Linked DNA regions of Homo sapiens: regions 1 and 3 are each linked to region 2. Evidence: promoter capture Hi-C in 16 types of primary human blood cells and fetal thymus (Javierre and others, 2016). All regions are on one chromosome and are shown on one strand. Each heading gives the region's core, a stretch centred on a gene start or on the middle of the fragment in contact. The rest is flanking DNA. Distances are from core to core; before and after follow the strand shown. Region 1 has its middle 140 kb from the start of MIMT1. Region 2 holds the start of DPRX (divergent-paired related homeobox). Region 3 overlaps ZIM3 (zinc finger imprinted 3).

Evidence for each region. The method cuts DNA at HindIII sites, captures the fragments that hold promoters and counts their contacts. A CHiCAGO score of 5 or more calls a contact.
Region 1: a contact is called between a fragment that was not itself captured here and the fragment with the promoter of DPRX in region 2, in 1 of 17 cell types (naive B cells). The highest score is 7.8, in naive B cells.
Region 3: a contact is called between a fragment that was not itself captured here and the fragment with the promoter of DPRX in region 2, in 2 of 17 cell types (total B cells and non-activated CD4 T cells). The highest score is 6.4, in total B cells.

What each region holds. Positions count from the first base shown.
Region 1 is chr19:56,975,712-56,980,067 of GRCh38, reverse strand. No RefSeq gene overlaps it. Among named protein-coding and RNA genes, the nearest start is that of MIMT1, 140 kb to the right of the region's middle. The HindIII fragment of the contact is 1,499 bases long and covers 1,366-2,864 here.
Region 2 is chr19:53,630,715-53,635,308 of GRCh38, reverse strand. It overlaps DPRX (divergent-paired related homeobox), which reads right to left and starts at 3,310. Exons shown (of 3, transcript NM_001012728.2): 1 at 3,175-3,310; 2 at 624-778. The coding sequence starts at 3,202. The HindIII fragment of the contact is 17,175 bases long and covers 413-4,594 here.
Region 3 is chr19:57,134,878-57,139,775 of GRCh38, reverse strand. ZIM3 (zinc finger imprinted 3) reads left to right here. Exons shown (of 5, transcript NM_052882.1): 3 at 1,178-1,304; 4 at 2,805-2,903; 5 at 3,681-4,898. The coding sequence ends at 4,858. Among named protein-coding and RNA genes, the nearest start is that of ZIM3, 7.9 kb to the left of the region's middle. The HindIII fragment of the contact is 498 bases long and covers 1,095-1,592 here.

The sequences.
Region 1 (4,356 bases), core at 866-3,365, 3.3 Mb before region 2:
CCAGGCTCCATGCTTAACGTCTGTCATGGAGTCCCGCGAGGTGGCCTACAGAACCGCCCCTGAGGGTGGCCCATCCATGTGAGGTCCTGGCCACCACCCTGTACCACAGAACCTCCCCTGAGGGTGGCCCATCCATCGGAGGTCCTGGGCACCACCCCGTACCACAGAACCTCCCCCGAGGGTGGCCCATCCATCTGAGGTCCTGGCCACCACCCCGTACCACAGAACCTCCCCTGAGGGTGACCCATCCATCTGAGGTCCTGGCCACCACCCCGTACCACAGAACCTCCCCCGAGGGTGGCCCATCCATCTGAGGTCCTGGCCACCACCCTGTACCACAGAACCTCCCCTGAGGGTGGCCCATCCATCTAAGGTCCTGGCCACCACCCCCTACCGGCCACCAGCATCTCCTGGCTCCGAGTGTTGCAACAGCTTACTGAGGGGTCCCTGGAATACCCTGGGCTTTGGCTGGAATTCTCACACTTGGAATTCCCTTCCTGTTGGGTTCCCATTACTAGTAGGACAAACACCAAAATCCTGAATTCCTACCTAGGAGATGGTGGGGCTCGGGACATGGTACCCTGAAATATGGCACGTTGGCATTTGAGAAAACAGCATGAGCAGAAATGCCTGTCTCAGCTTTCCTCGTCCTTCTCTCTGAAGCAATTGTAAGACTGTCATTCCAGCGTGCCCTCTCTGTACCCGTAGGAGAGGAGCATCCTTATCTCTGAAGACACTGAATCTGAACAAACAGGCCTTGAAAAGCTCCCCTCACTCTCTCACTCTTGTAGCATGAGAGCACACTGCCTCTGTCAAATACTTCTCCACAGCCATCCACTTCTTCATCAGACCAGCATCAAATATACACGTTTTTCTGTTTCTTTGGGTCTTTATTTCCTTGTGGAAGGCTCCCGTGTCACATAAAACTTATACTAAATAAATCTGTATGATTTTTTTTTTTGGTTGATCTGTCTTGTGTTACAGGGGCCTCAGTCATGAACCTAGCAATTGGTGAGGAAAAAGAGGCCAGGCACACTGGCCCATGCCTGCAATCCCAGCACTTTGGGAGGCTGAGGTAGGCAGATCGCTTGAGCTCAGGAGTTACAGATCAGCCTAGGCAATATGGCAAAACCCCATCTGTACAAAAAATACAAAAATTAACTGGGCGTTGTGGTGCGTATCTGTAGCCCCAGCTACTTGGGAGGCTGAGGTGGGAGGATCACTTGAGCCCAGGAGGTCGAGGCTTCAGTGACCGCACCACTGCATTCCAACCAGTGCCGCAGAATAAGACCCTGTCTCAAAACAAACAAACAAACAACAAACCACTGCCAAAAAGAAACCTTTTCTTCCCTACAGAGGTAAGCTTATGACCGGTGGGGCCAGGAGATTTGGCTTGGAGTGGCATCTGCATTATCCCACCTATTATGCGATGCTGGGTATTGCAAATAATAATAATAACATTAATGTGTATATATGATATACACAAACACACACGTGTATACATGCACGTAGCTTCAGTTTACAAAATTCACACTTTAGATTCTTCTAAATGATTTACAGTTACCTATGGACGTGTTTGGGGAATCCTGTTTTACGGGCATGTGCTGAGCACAGACGGGCACTATTCTGTGAGAGTGTCGTGAATGAGGCTATCGACTCAAAGTAACACAAGCCCCTGCTGTTTGTGAGAAGCACAGTGCAGGAAGGAAGGATAGGGCTGAGATGCCAGGGGCTGGAAGCCCCACCCCCCACCGCTCTGACACATCAAAATGAGCGGCTTTCTTCTCTGTCCTAGCGTTGACAACGTCCCCTTCACACACGCCCCCAGTTCCAGGAATTTCCGTGCTCTCCGCAGGGCAGAGAGGGCCTTGAACTCACAAATCAACAAACTCTGAAAGTGTAAACTGAAAACGTACGCTTGAAAAGAGGCCCAATATCCGTTTGGAAACAGGGGCGGTCACAGTATTCCCCTTTTTCATGAGACTGCACGCGTGCGTGGCAGTAAGGACCTAGAAAGGAGGATGAGGGTGGTTCAGGGGAGGGAAGCACAGAGGATGTGCATGTTCATGAGACTTTTGCATGTTTTGGGGATACAGGACATGATGTTGTGTTGGTGGTACAGGGCCCAGGGCTGATTTCCTCATGGGCTGATGTTTAGGACACCAGGCCTGGCAATACCTTAGAGGTTCAGATCAGGAGCGGACTCAGTGGGTTATCCTTGGACTCTTGAGGAGAAAACATGCAAAAAATAGAATCCCCTGATGTTATCTATTGGGCTGGCAAAACTGATATTTTCTGGGGTTTAGCAATGTGAGGCTTCGGGACAGGTCCTCTTCATGGATGTCAAATTGGCATCTTCAGCCAACGCGTTCACATCAAAATTGTCAGTCCCCCTCAAAATTCTACTCCTCACCCCCAAGTCTCCCCAGTCTCTATAAAAGGCACTACCCAGTCTGCAAGAGCCCAAACTCGAAACGTAGACATCATCCTCTGTCATCCTCTGTGCTTCTCACTCTCATGACGTAATGAGATTCAATCCACTTCTGTTCACCTTCGTCCAGGTACCAACACCTCTCCCTAGATAACTATCACATCTTGATGATGAGGGTCACTCCTGTCCCCATGATAAGTCTATCCTCCAAAAAAATCAAGCTGCAGACCTTCTGCAAATGAGTCAGATAATGTCATTCTCTCACCCACCTTCCATGCCAACTGAGCCTAGATCGGTGGCTCTAGAACACTTGGATTAAAAGGAAAGCTACCCGTGGTTGGCCCACAAGGTCGGTGGCAACCTGGCTCTTGTCTGCTGCTTTCCTTACCCACCACCCCCTGGCCATGCTGTCCTCACTGTCCCTGAAAAAGCTTCCTGCCCCAAGACCTTCACTCTTGCCTTTCCTCTAATTGGAATTTCCTTTCCCCACAGTCCCCATGGCTGTTTCTTTCCCAATTTTCACGTTTCAGCTCAAAGGTCATATCCTCAAAGGCAGACCTGGGGATTAGGAAGAGGCTTACGGAGGTGCACAGTCATCCAGAAAGCTGAGGGGTTCAGGGACGGGAGATGTTGGTCCAAAGACACAAAATTTCAGTCATGAAGGAGGAATACGTTCCGGGGATTATACCACATGGTGAGTATGGTTAATTTTATTTAAGATAAATAATATTTAACACAATGGTTTTGAAAACCAAAATGAACGCAGAAAGCAACCCCCCATAATGGATGAACAAATACTCAAAATTTAAATCAAACCCAATGTGTGCTGAGCTGTACTGAAGCCCGAGGCCAAAAAAAAAAGTGTGATTCCCTATATCCGTGTGATTGTGCAATTTTTTTTTTTTTTTTTTTTGGTAGAGACTGGGTTTCGCTCTGTTGCCCAAGCTGGAGTGCAGTGGTGACTCGGTGAATAGTATTACCATCCAAAATTCATCCATTCCTGCCTCTGTCCTTGGCTATTACCCTAATCGTAGCCTCCTATCATGTCCACAGCCCACTCTTGACCTAGTGGCCACACAGCCCAGAGAAGTCCCTGAGCAAATATTTGTTCTTGAAGATTGCTTCAGCCTCGACCTCCTGGCCTCAAGCAAGCCTCCCATTTCAGCTTCCAAAGTAGCTGGGACTAGAGATATGCAACACCATTTCTGACTTTTTAAAAATTTTCTGTAGAGATAGAGTCTTTCTATCTTGCCTAGTCTGGTCTTGAACTCCTGGTCTCAAGTAATCCACCCGCCTCAGCCTTCCAACATGCTGGTATTACAGGTGTGAGCTCTCTCACGCAGCTTGTAATTATTTAATGGTTCACTCCCCACCCCCACAGAATATTAGTTTTAAAAATGTTGAAAAAAGGAAAAATAGCTATATTAAACTCGCAATGTCTTATGTTAATTTTATGTGTTAAAAATAGAATTTATTATAATTTTATTTTCCCGGCCTCAGTGGAAGCAGACTCATCAATAATATTTTCAAAATCTATTTCTGGAAAATAACCATTAAAAAATACATAACCGGGAGGCTGAGGCAGGAGAATCGCTTGAACCAGGGAGTTGCAGGTTGCAGTGAGCTGAGATTGTGCCACCGCACTCTAGCCTGGCAACAGAGACTTCGTCTCAAAGAAAAAAAAAAAAACAGTAGCAACATGCTTAGGGTCATACGCACTTTTCCTTTTGCCTGAGGGTCTGATGTAGCTCAGCACAGTCTCATAGGGTCCTGTCTTTATTTAAATTTTTAATATTTTGTTTATCACGTTTTTTTGTACATGAATTTTTTTTTCAAATACTGCATGAAAATATTGTTTATCTTGATGACTGAGTGTTTTGTGCTGTTGTTTATTGAGCTTGCTGTGTGGCCATTATTCCCTTGTT
Region 2 (4,594 bases), core at 2,061-4,560:
GCCAGGCGCAGTGGCTTATGCCTATAATCCTGACACTTTGGGAGGCCAAGGCAGGTGAATCACTTGAGACCAGGAGTTCAAGATCAGCCTCCTGGGCAATATAGCGAAACCCCATCTCTACAAAAAATAAAATACAGCCGGGCTCATGCTTGTAATCCCAACACTTTGGGAGGCGTAGTGTGCACCTGTAGACCTGTAGTCCCAGCTACTTGGGGTGCTGAGGTGGTAGGATTGCTTGAGCCCGGGAGGTCGAGGCTGCAGTGAGCTGTGATTGCACCACCGTGCTCCAACCTGAGTAAAAGAGTTTCTGGGAACACAGATGGGCCTCTTGTTTACGTTGTCTGTGGCTGCCTTCGCACTGTGGTGGCATAGTTAAAATAGTTGCTAGAGAGACGGTATGGCCCACAAAGCTTCAATTATTTACTACCTGGTCCTTTACTGGAAAAATTTTCCCATTCTTGCTCTAGGGGGTTGAAGAAAGGTTTACGGGGACGTGAGTAGGAGAGTGTGGGTTTGGGGAATATTGGCGATTGGAATGAGACCTCAGGAATTATCCTAGAGGGACTCTGAATTTAGATTAGATCAGGAAGGCAGTTTAGTGAGAAGAGGGATCATTTTCCAACCTGCAGTACTGTTGGGTGTATGTCTATTTTCGAGGCCATTTCTTTCTGAAGGCTGGGGTTTGGGTATGGGTTCTCATTGAACAAGATGTTCAGATCTTCCAGTTGCTTCTTAGTGAACATGGTTCGTTTCCTGTGTGAATGCATCTGGTCCTTGCCTTGAAAGAGGAGGAAAAAGACACAAATGGGAAATGCTAACAACTCCATTCTCAAAAGCCTGAGCTTTCCTTTCCTTTCCACTGAGGTACAACGTGATGATCAAGTGACTGAGGTTCTGTCACCGAGGCTGGAGTGCAGTGGCACAATCTCAGCTCACTGCAACCTCCACCTCCTGAGTTCAAGCGATTCTCCTGCCTCAGCCTCCCGAGTAGCTGGGATTACAGGCGCACGCCACCATGCCCGGATAATTTTTGTATTTCTAGCAGAGACAGGGTTTCACCATGTTGGCTAGGCTGGTCTCGAACTCCTGACCTCAGGTGATCCACCCGCCTCGGCCTCCCAAAGTGTTGGGATTACATGCGTGAGCCACTGTGCCCGGCCGTGACTGAGGTTCTTAGATATGGAGACACTGCTGGCCGGGGTCGTGCCTCAGGCTGCAGTCCCAGTACTGTGGGAGGCTGAAGCGGGAGGACAACTTGATCTGCCTTTTGTCCTTGTTTTTCCAAGCCTCATTTGTCATTTTCATAGGAAAAGGTTGTTCCTTTCCCCCTTGGTTCCTCCATCCTTTTTTTCTGTTATCATTTAAATATGGGATCCCTTGCTCACGCCTGTAATCCCAGCACTTTGGGAGGCCAGGGCGGGCAGATCATATCAGGTCATGAGTTTGAGACCAGCCTGGCCAGCATGGTGAAACCCCATCTCTATTAAAAACACAAAAATTTGGCCGGGCACAGTGGCTCATGCCTGTAATCCCAGCACTTTGGGAGGCCAAGGCGGGCGGATCATGAGGTCAAGAGATCAAGACCATTCTGGCTAACATGGTGAAACCCTGTCTCTACTAAAAGTACAAAAATTAGCTGGGCGTGATGGTGCACGCCTGTAGTCCCAGCTACTCGGGAGGCTGAGGCAGGAGAATCGCTTGAACCTCAGAGGCAGAGGCTGTGGTGAGCCGAGATTATGCCACTGCACTCCAGCCTGAGACAGAGGGAGACCCTGTCTCAAGAAAATAATAAATAAATAAATAAATAAATACGTAAATAAGGGATCGCTTGTGCCTTACCTCTTGGGTTCTATTTTCTTTGTGTAGAAATAGGCAACTCAATCCAAGGTGAAATGGATGGACATGGTTTTATTCTTATCATTTATTCAATGTTCATTAAGTATATTCTTTTAGGAATATAGCAAGGAAATAAGCAGAAAAATAACATCACTGCTGTCACGGATGTCACCTTTTACTTTCTTTTTCTTGAGACAGTGTACTGCTGTGTTGCCCAGTGGCATGATCACAGCTCACTTCAGCCTCAACCTCCCCAGGCTCAAGCGATCCTCTCACCTCAGCCTCCCGAGTAGCTGGAACTACACAACACTGACATGCCCGGCTAATTTTTGTATTTTTTGTAGAGACAACGTCTTGTTTTGTTGCCCAGGCTGGTCTTGAACTCCTGGGCTGAAGCGATCTGCCCACCTCGGCCTCCCAAAGTGCTGGGATTACAGGCATGAGCCACCGCATGCCTCGCTCTAAAAGATCTGAATCGCATCATGCCTGAAAATGGTTTGGCAGCAGCTCCAGAGTCTAGTAAGTGCTCATGAACATGAGATTTCCAGCTTGGCTAAGCCTATATTCTATCTAGGACCTAATCATCCTCATAGGAATCAGATTCCCCTGTGCTCAAGAACAAGCATCGGGGTGGGAAGAATTAGGACACAACTACGAGGGAGAAGATTTCGGATTTGAAGGCAGAAACAGGCTTCCCTGCATTTGCCTGTGCTGTCAGATGACAGCCGCGGCCGGGCACCGAGGCTCATGCCTGTAATCCCAGCACTTTGGGAGGCCGAGGCCAGCCAATCACATGAGGTCAGGGGCTTGAGACCAACCTAGCTAACATGGTGAAACCCCATCTCTATAAAGATACAAAACTTGGGCCGGGTGCAGTGGCTCACGCCTGTCACCCCAGCACTTTGGGAGGCTGAGCCAGACGGATCACAAGGTCAGGAGTTCGAGACCAGCCTGGTCAATATGGTGAAACCCCCGGCTCTACTAAAAATACAAAAAAAAAAAAAATTAGCCAGGTGTGGTGGCGTGTGCCTGTCATCCCAGCTACTCGGGAGGCTGAGGCAGGAGAATTGCTTGAACCTGGGAGGTGGAGGTTGCAGTGAGCCGAAATCGTGCCACTGCACTCCAGCCTGAGCGACAGAGTGAGACTGTCTCAAAAGACAAACAAAACAAAACAAAACAACAACAACAAAAACGATGACAGCCTCTGTGGGAAGTCCCTGCCACCCACGTGGACGAAGCACCAGCTTCGGCCGCCTGGTCCCTCTGCCTTTTCCCGCCGCCAGCTGCTTTCCACTTCTTCACGTGTCTTTGCTTCGGTTCTCATTTTTTCTGGCTTACCTTTACGAAGATCCTCTGAGCCTGGCATCTTCTAATCCAGATGTGCGCCTGGGTTCAGGTCCAGGGATAAGAACTAGCAAAGATCAAATCCGGATTTAAGTAGCTTCCTCCACAGCCACACCCGACTCCCACCTCCTCCACCTTTCTCTGCCCTATCTGCCTCCAATATGATCCCTCGGTCCTCCAGAGCCCCCTGGATTTCTCCCAATACTGTCATTTTATCTAATATTGATTGAGCGGAGACCAACGACTCAAAGGCGAGTCCACAAACCAGCCCCACTAACACTCCTGGGAGTTGTTAAAATGCAGAATCCTGGCCCACTCCAGACTTCCTGAGCAGAAGCTGCAATTTCTTTTCTTTTTTTCTTTTTCTTTGAGACAGAGTCCCACTCTGTCACCCAGGCTGGAGCGCAATGACACCATCTTGGCTCACTGCAGCCTCTGCCTCCCAGGTTCAAGGGATTCTCATGTCTCAGCCTCCCGAGTAGCTGAGATCACAGGCCTGTGCCACCACTCCTGACTAATTTTTGTATTTTTAGTAGAGACGGAGTTTCCGCCATGTTGGCCAGGCTGGTCTTGAACTCCTGCCCTCAACGTTTCTGACTCGGTCTGGGGTGGGATCTGATGATTTCCATATCTAACAAGCACCCAGGTGACCAGGCTCCGTAATGGGGACCGGGAATGTGATTGTGAATAATGAAGTCCAGGTTTAAACCCTAAAGGGGCTTTCAGGCAACTTATATATTCTTTAGTGGCTAATATATGCTTGGCATTGTTCTGCATATCCTGATTTAGTTAACTCACTCAGAAATCATCTCATTTTATTTATTTATTTATTTATTTAGAGATGGAGTCTCACTCTGTCACCCAGGCTGGAGTGCAGTGGCACGATCTCGGCTCACAGCAACCTCCGCCTCTCAGGTTCAAGCAATTCTCCTGCCTCAGCCTTCCCAGTAGCTGGGATTACAGGCACCCACCACCAAGCCTGGCTAATTACAGGTGGCTCACACCTGTAATCCCAGCACTTTGGGAGGCTGAGGCAGGCGGATCACCTGAGGTCAGGAGTTCGAGACCAGCCTGGCCAACATGGCGAAACCCCATCTCTACTAAAAATACGAAAATTAGCTGGGTGTGGTGGTGGGCACCTGTAATCCCAGCTACTCAGGAGGCTGAGGCAGGAGAATTGCTTGAACCCAGGAGGCAGAGGTTGCAGTGAGCTGAGATCGCACCACTGCACTCCAGCCTGGGTGACAGGAGTGAGACTCCATCTCAAAAAAATAAAAGAAAAAGCTGCAACACCTTTCAGATGCCCAGGCTCACACCATGTATACCTTTTATCTTGACGACAAGGGCAGTTTGACTTCAGGTTCACAGAAGTGGCAGTTTTTCTTGCCATTCCATCCATTTGAATCTCAGTTCT
Region 3 (4,898 bases), core at 94-2,593, 3.5 Mb before region 2:
AGAATTAGGGGGCTATTGGCTTATTCTACTTATTTATGTATTTATTTATTTGAGATGGAGTCTCACTGTCACCCAGGCTGGAGTGCAGTGGTGTGATCTCAGCTCACTGCAACCTCCACCTCCCAGGGTTCAAGCGATTCTCCTGCCTCAGCCTCCTGAGTAGCTGGGATTACAGGCGCGCACCACGACACCTGGCTAATTTTTGTATTTTTAGTAGAGATGGGGTTTCACCATGTTGACGAGGCTGGTCTCGAACTCCTGACCCCGGGTGATCCACCTGTCTCAGCCTCCTGAAGTGCTGGGATTATAGGTGTGAGCCACCATGCCAGGCCTCTATTTAAAAAAGAATTTCTAATAGAGGCAGGATGTCTTAAAGAAAAATGGAAAATAGAAAAAAAATATAATAACATTTTCTTTTCTTTTCTTTTTCTTTTTCTTTTTTTTCTTGAGACAGAGTTTTGCTCTTGTTGCCCTGGCTGGAGTGCAGTGGCGCAATCTTGGCTCACTGCAGCCTCCACCTCCTGGGTTCAAGTGATTCTCCTGCCTCAGCCTCCTGAGTAGCTGGGATTACAGGCGCCTGCCACCATGCCTGGCTAATTTTTTGTATTTTTAGTAGAGATGGGGTTTCTTCATGTTGGCCAGACTGGTCTCGAACTCCTGACCTCAGGTGATCCACCCGCCTCGGCCTCCCAAAGTGCAGGGATTACAGGTGTGAGCCACCGTGCCCGGCCAAAATAATAAAATGTTCTTTGAGATAGGGGTTTTGCTATGTTCCCCAGCTAGCCTCAAACTCCTGGCCTCAAGCAATCCTCCTGCCTCGGCCTCCCAAAATGTTGGGATGATAGGTGTGAGCCACCATACTCGGCCTCTGCCTTACTCTAAGTAAAAGATGACAAGGTGGATTTATGAATGGTGGAGAAGATGGAAACTAATGGCTGGGTTTGAGATTCAGGAAGTAAAATTGGTGGGACTAGAGGGTGGAGAAAGATGGCAGTGTCATGAGTAGGTCTAAGGTTTATGGCTCATTGGCAAGATCCTCTGGGCACAATTTATTTTCATCCAGAGTAGAGTGAATTATGGACATGATTAAAGCTTGGTTCAGCAGAAACAAGTTTCTGTATCCTCAGCCGCAGGATTCAATGGCATTTTTATACTGATCGGGAATCTGTTGTTACAGGGAAGAGTGACCTTCGAGGATGTCACTGTGAACTTCACCCAGGGGGAGTGGCAGCGGCTGAATCCCGAACAGAGAAACTTGTACAGGGATGTGATGCTGGAGAATTACAGCAACCTTGTCTCTGTGGGTAAGGACGGCTTCCCGGGCAGGGGGACTCAAAACCTAAGGCGTGAAACACACAGACACCCCATGGCTGGCCAAATAGGGTTGGCACAGAGGTGCTCCTCACTTCGCATATGTTTTTGTAGAGCCGGGACTAGGGTGAGGCAAGTGAAGTGTACCAAGTGCTGTATTGAAGGAGCCCCCATTCTCAGGGTCGGCAAGTGCCGGGAGAATGAGTGAGGGCCTCTGTAAGTTTTGTGGGCTGGGTGCCCTGCCCTTCACCCTACTCCTGGTCTTGATTTTTGGAAAAGCTTTATCCTCCAAGAAGAAAAAGCATTTCTTTCTTTCCCTTCCTTCCCTCCCTCCCTCCCTCCCTCCCTCCCTGCCTCCTTCCCTTCCTCCCTTCCTACCTCCCTTCTTTCCTTCCTTCCTTCCTTCCTTCTTTCCTTCCTTCCTTCCTTCTTTCCTTCCTTCTTTCCTTCCTTCCTTCCTTCTTTCCTTCCTTCCTTCCTTCTTTCCTTCCTTCTTTCCTTCCTTCCTTCCTTCTTTCCTTCCTTCCTTCCTTCCTTCCTTCTTTCCTTCCTTCCTTCCTTCTTTCCTTCCTTCTTTCCTTCCTTCCTTCCTTCTTTCCTTCCTTCCTTCCTTCCTTCCTTCCTTTCTCCCTCCCTCCCTCTCTCCATTCCTCTCTCTTTCTTTATCTCCTTTCTCCTAACAGGGTCTGGCTGTGTCACCGAGGCTGGAGTGCAGTGGTGCAATCATAGCTCACTGTAGTATTTTTTTTTTTTGGAGACAGTCTCGCTCTGTCACCCAGGCTGGAGTGCAGTGGTGTGATCTCGGCTCACTGCAACCTCCGCCTCCCAGGTTCCAGTGATTTTCCTGCCTTAGCCTCCCGAGTAGCTGGGATTACAGACGTGCACCACCATGCCTGGCTAATTTTTGTATTTTTTGCACAGATGGGGTTTCTCCATGTTGGTGAGGCTAGTCTTGAACTCCTGACCTCAGATAACCGGCCCGCCTCAGCCTCCCAAAGTTCTGGTATTACAGGCATGAACCACCACGCCTGGCGTCACTGCAACATTGACCTGGGCTCAAGCCATCCTCCCACCTCAGCCTCCTGAATAGCTGGGACCACAGACGTGCACCACCACACGTGGCTTTGGTTTTGTAGAGACTGGGTCTTGCTATCTTCATGTTACATGTAACATGTTGGTCTCAAATTCCTGTGCTCTAGCAATTCTCCTATCTCGGCCTCCCAAAGTGCTGGGATTACAGGCATGAGCCGCCACACCCAGCCCAGAAAAAGCATTCTTTGTTTAGTTCGACTGCTCAGGTGCATTCCCTCAAACCATCCATCCACACAACTCCCCCCAACCAATGGCACATACCCACACACTGACATATAAATGCTCACACTCACACACAAATATTCACACAAGCATACGCAAGCGCTTATATACACTCATACACTTGCACAAACAACTCACACATCCACAAACACCAAGCCTTGCGGTATCTTCCATCACAGGACAAGGGGAAACCACCAAACCCGATGTGATCTTGAGGTTGGAACAAGGAAAGGAGCCATGGTTGGAGGAAGAGGAAGTGCTGGGAAGTGGCCGTGCAGGTAGGTGACCAGGAGAGCACTGTGGGTCAATGGTGCATGGAAGCCAATTCAGCTTTTCTAAATGAGGAAGTCGTTTGGCAGCCAGCTGTGACTTCCTGGGAGTGCTGGAAGAAATCTCCAGGTATTTTTCTCCACTCAGAAATTTCTTTACATTCTTATCTGGGTTTTCCTTTGCAGGCAAACTCTTTTTTTTTTCTTTTTTTTTTTTTTCTGGAAACGGAGTCTCTGTCGCCCAGGCTGGAGTGCAGTGGCGCGATCTGGGCTCACTGCAACCTCCGCCTCCCGAGTTCGAACGATTCTCCTGCCTCAGCCTCCCGAGTAGCTGGGATTACAGGCACTTGCCACCATGCCCGGCGAATTTTTTGTATTTTTAGTAGAGACAGGGTTTCGCCATGTTGGTCAGGCTGGTCTTGAACCCCCGACCTCAGGCAATCCACCCGCCTCAGCCTCCCAAAGTGCTAGGATTACAGGTGTGAGCCCCTGTGCCTGGCCTGGCAAACTCTCTTTCTTAATCTCCCTCTCCCTGGTATCCCTAGGCTCTCACCTGCTCCCTGTGCACTAGGTCTACGTTGCTCAGTCCTTTACAGACAGATATGTGATAGCTTCATGTAACATTAGCTCACATAGAACTCTAACAGAGCTTATATTAACTTTGGTTTCTCGTAGACATTAGGTTTGAAGCCAGAATAATCACCACAATAGATTGTTTATGGCATTTTATTTCAAGCATGTGAGTGGAACGTTTTACACAGGACATTTTTTTGTATTCCATTTTAGAAAAAAATGGGGACATTGGAGGGCAGATTTGGAAGCCAAAGGATGTGAAAGAGAGTCTCGCAAGAGAAGTCCCATCAATCAATAAGGAAACGCTGACTACGCAGAAAGGTGTAGAATGTGACGGATCTAAGAAAATACTTCCACTGGGCATAGATGATGTATCTTCCTTGCAACACTATGTACAAAATAATTCTCACGATGATAATGGATACAGAAAATTAGTTGGCAATAATCCATCCAAATTTGTAGGACAACAACTGAAATGTAATGCCTGTAGAAAGTTATTCAGTTCAAAGTCACGCCTTCAAAGTCACCTGAGGAGGCATGCCTGTCAAAAACCCTTTGAATGTCATAGCTGTGGAAGAGCATTCGGGGAGAAGTGGAAGCTTGATAAACATCAGAAAACTCACGCAGAGGAAAGGCCCTATAAATGTGAGAACTGTGGAAATGCCTACAAGCAGAAGTCAAATCTCTTTCAACATCAGAAAATGCATACTAAAGAGAAACCCTATCAGTGTAAGACATGTGGAAAAGCCTTTTCCTGGAAATCATCCTGCATTAATCATGAGAAAATTCATAATGCCAAGAAATCCTATCAGTGTAATGAATGTGAGAAATCCTTCAGGCAGAACTCAACCCTCATTCAACATAAAAAAGTTCACACTGGACAAAAACCCTTTCAATGTACGGACTGTGGAAAGGCTTTCATTTACAAGTCAGATCTTGTGAAACACCAGAGAATACACACGGGAGAGAAACCCTATAAATGTAGCATATGTGAGAAGGCCTTTTCCCAGAAATCCAATGTCATCGATCATGAGAAAATTCACACTGGGAAGAGAGCTTATGAGTGTGATCTATGTGGAAATACCTTTATCCAGAAGAAAAACCTCATTCAACATAAAAAAATCCATACTGGGGAAAAGCCCTATGAATGTAACAGATGTGGAAAAGCCTTCTTTCAGAAGTCAAACCTTCATAGCCATCAGAAAACTCATAGCGGAGAGAGGACCTATAGATGTAGTGAATGTGGAAAAACCTTCATCCGGAAATTAAACCTTAGTTTGCATAAAAAAACCCATACTGGACAAAAACCTTATGGATGTTCTGAATGCGGTAAAGCCTTCGCTGACAGGTCATACCTTGTTAGGCACCAGAAAAGAATTCACTCCAGATAGGAGCCCCATGCACTTAAAAAAACATGGGAAGATATGGTTG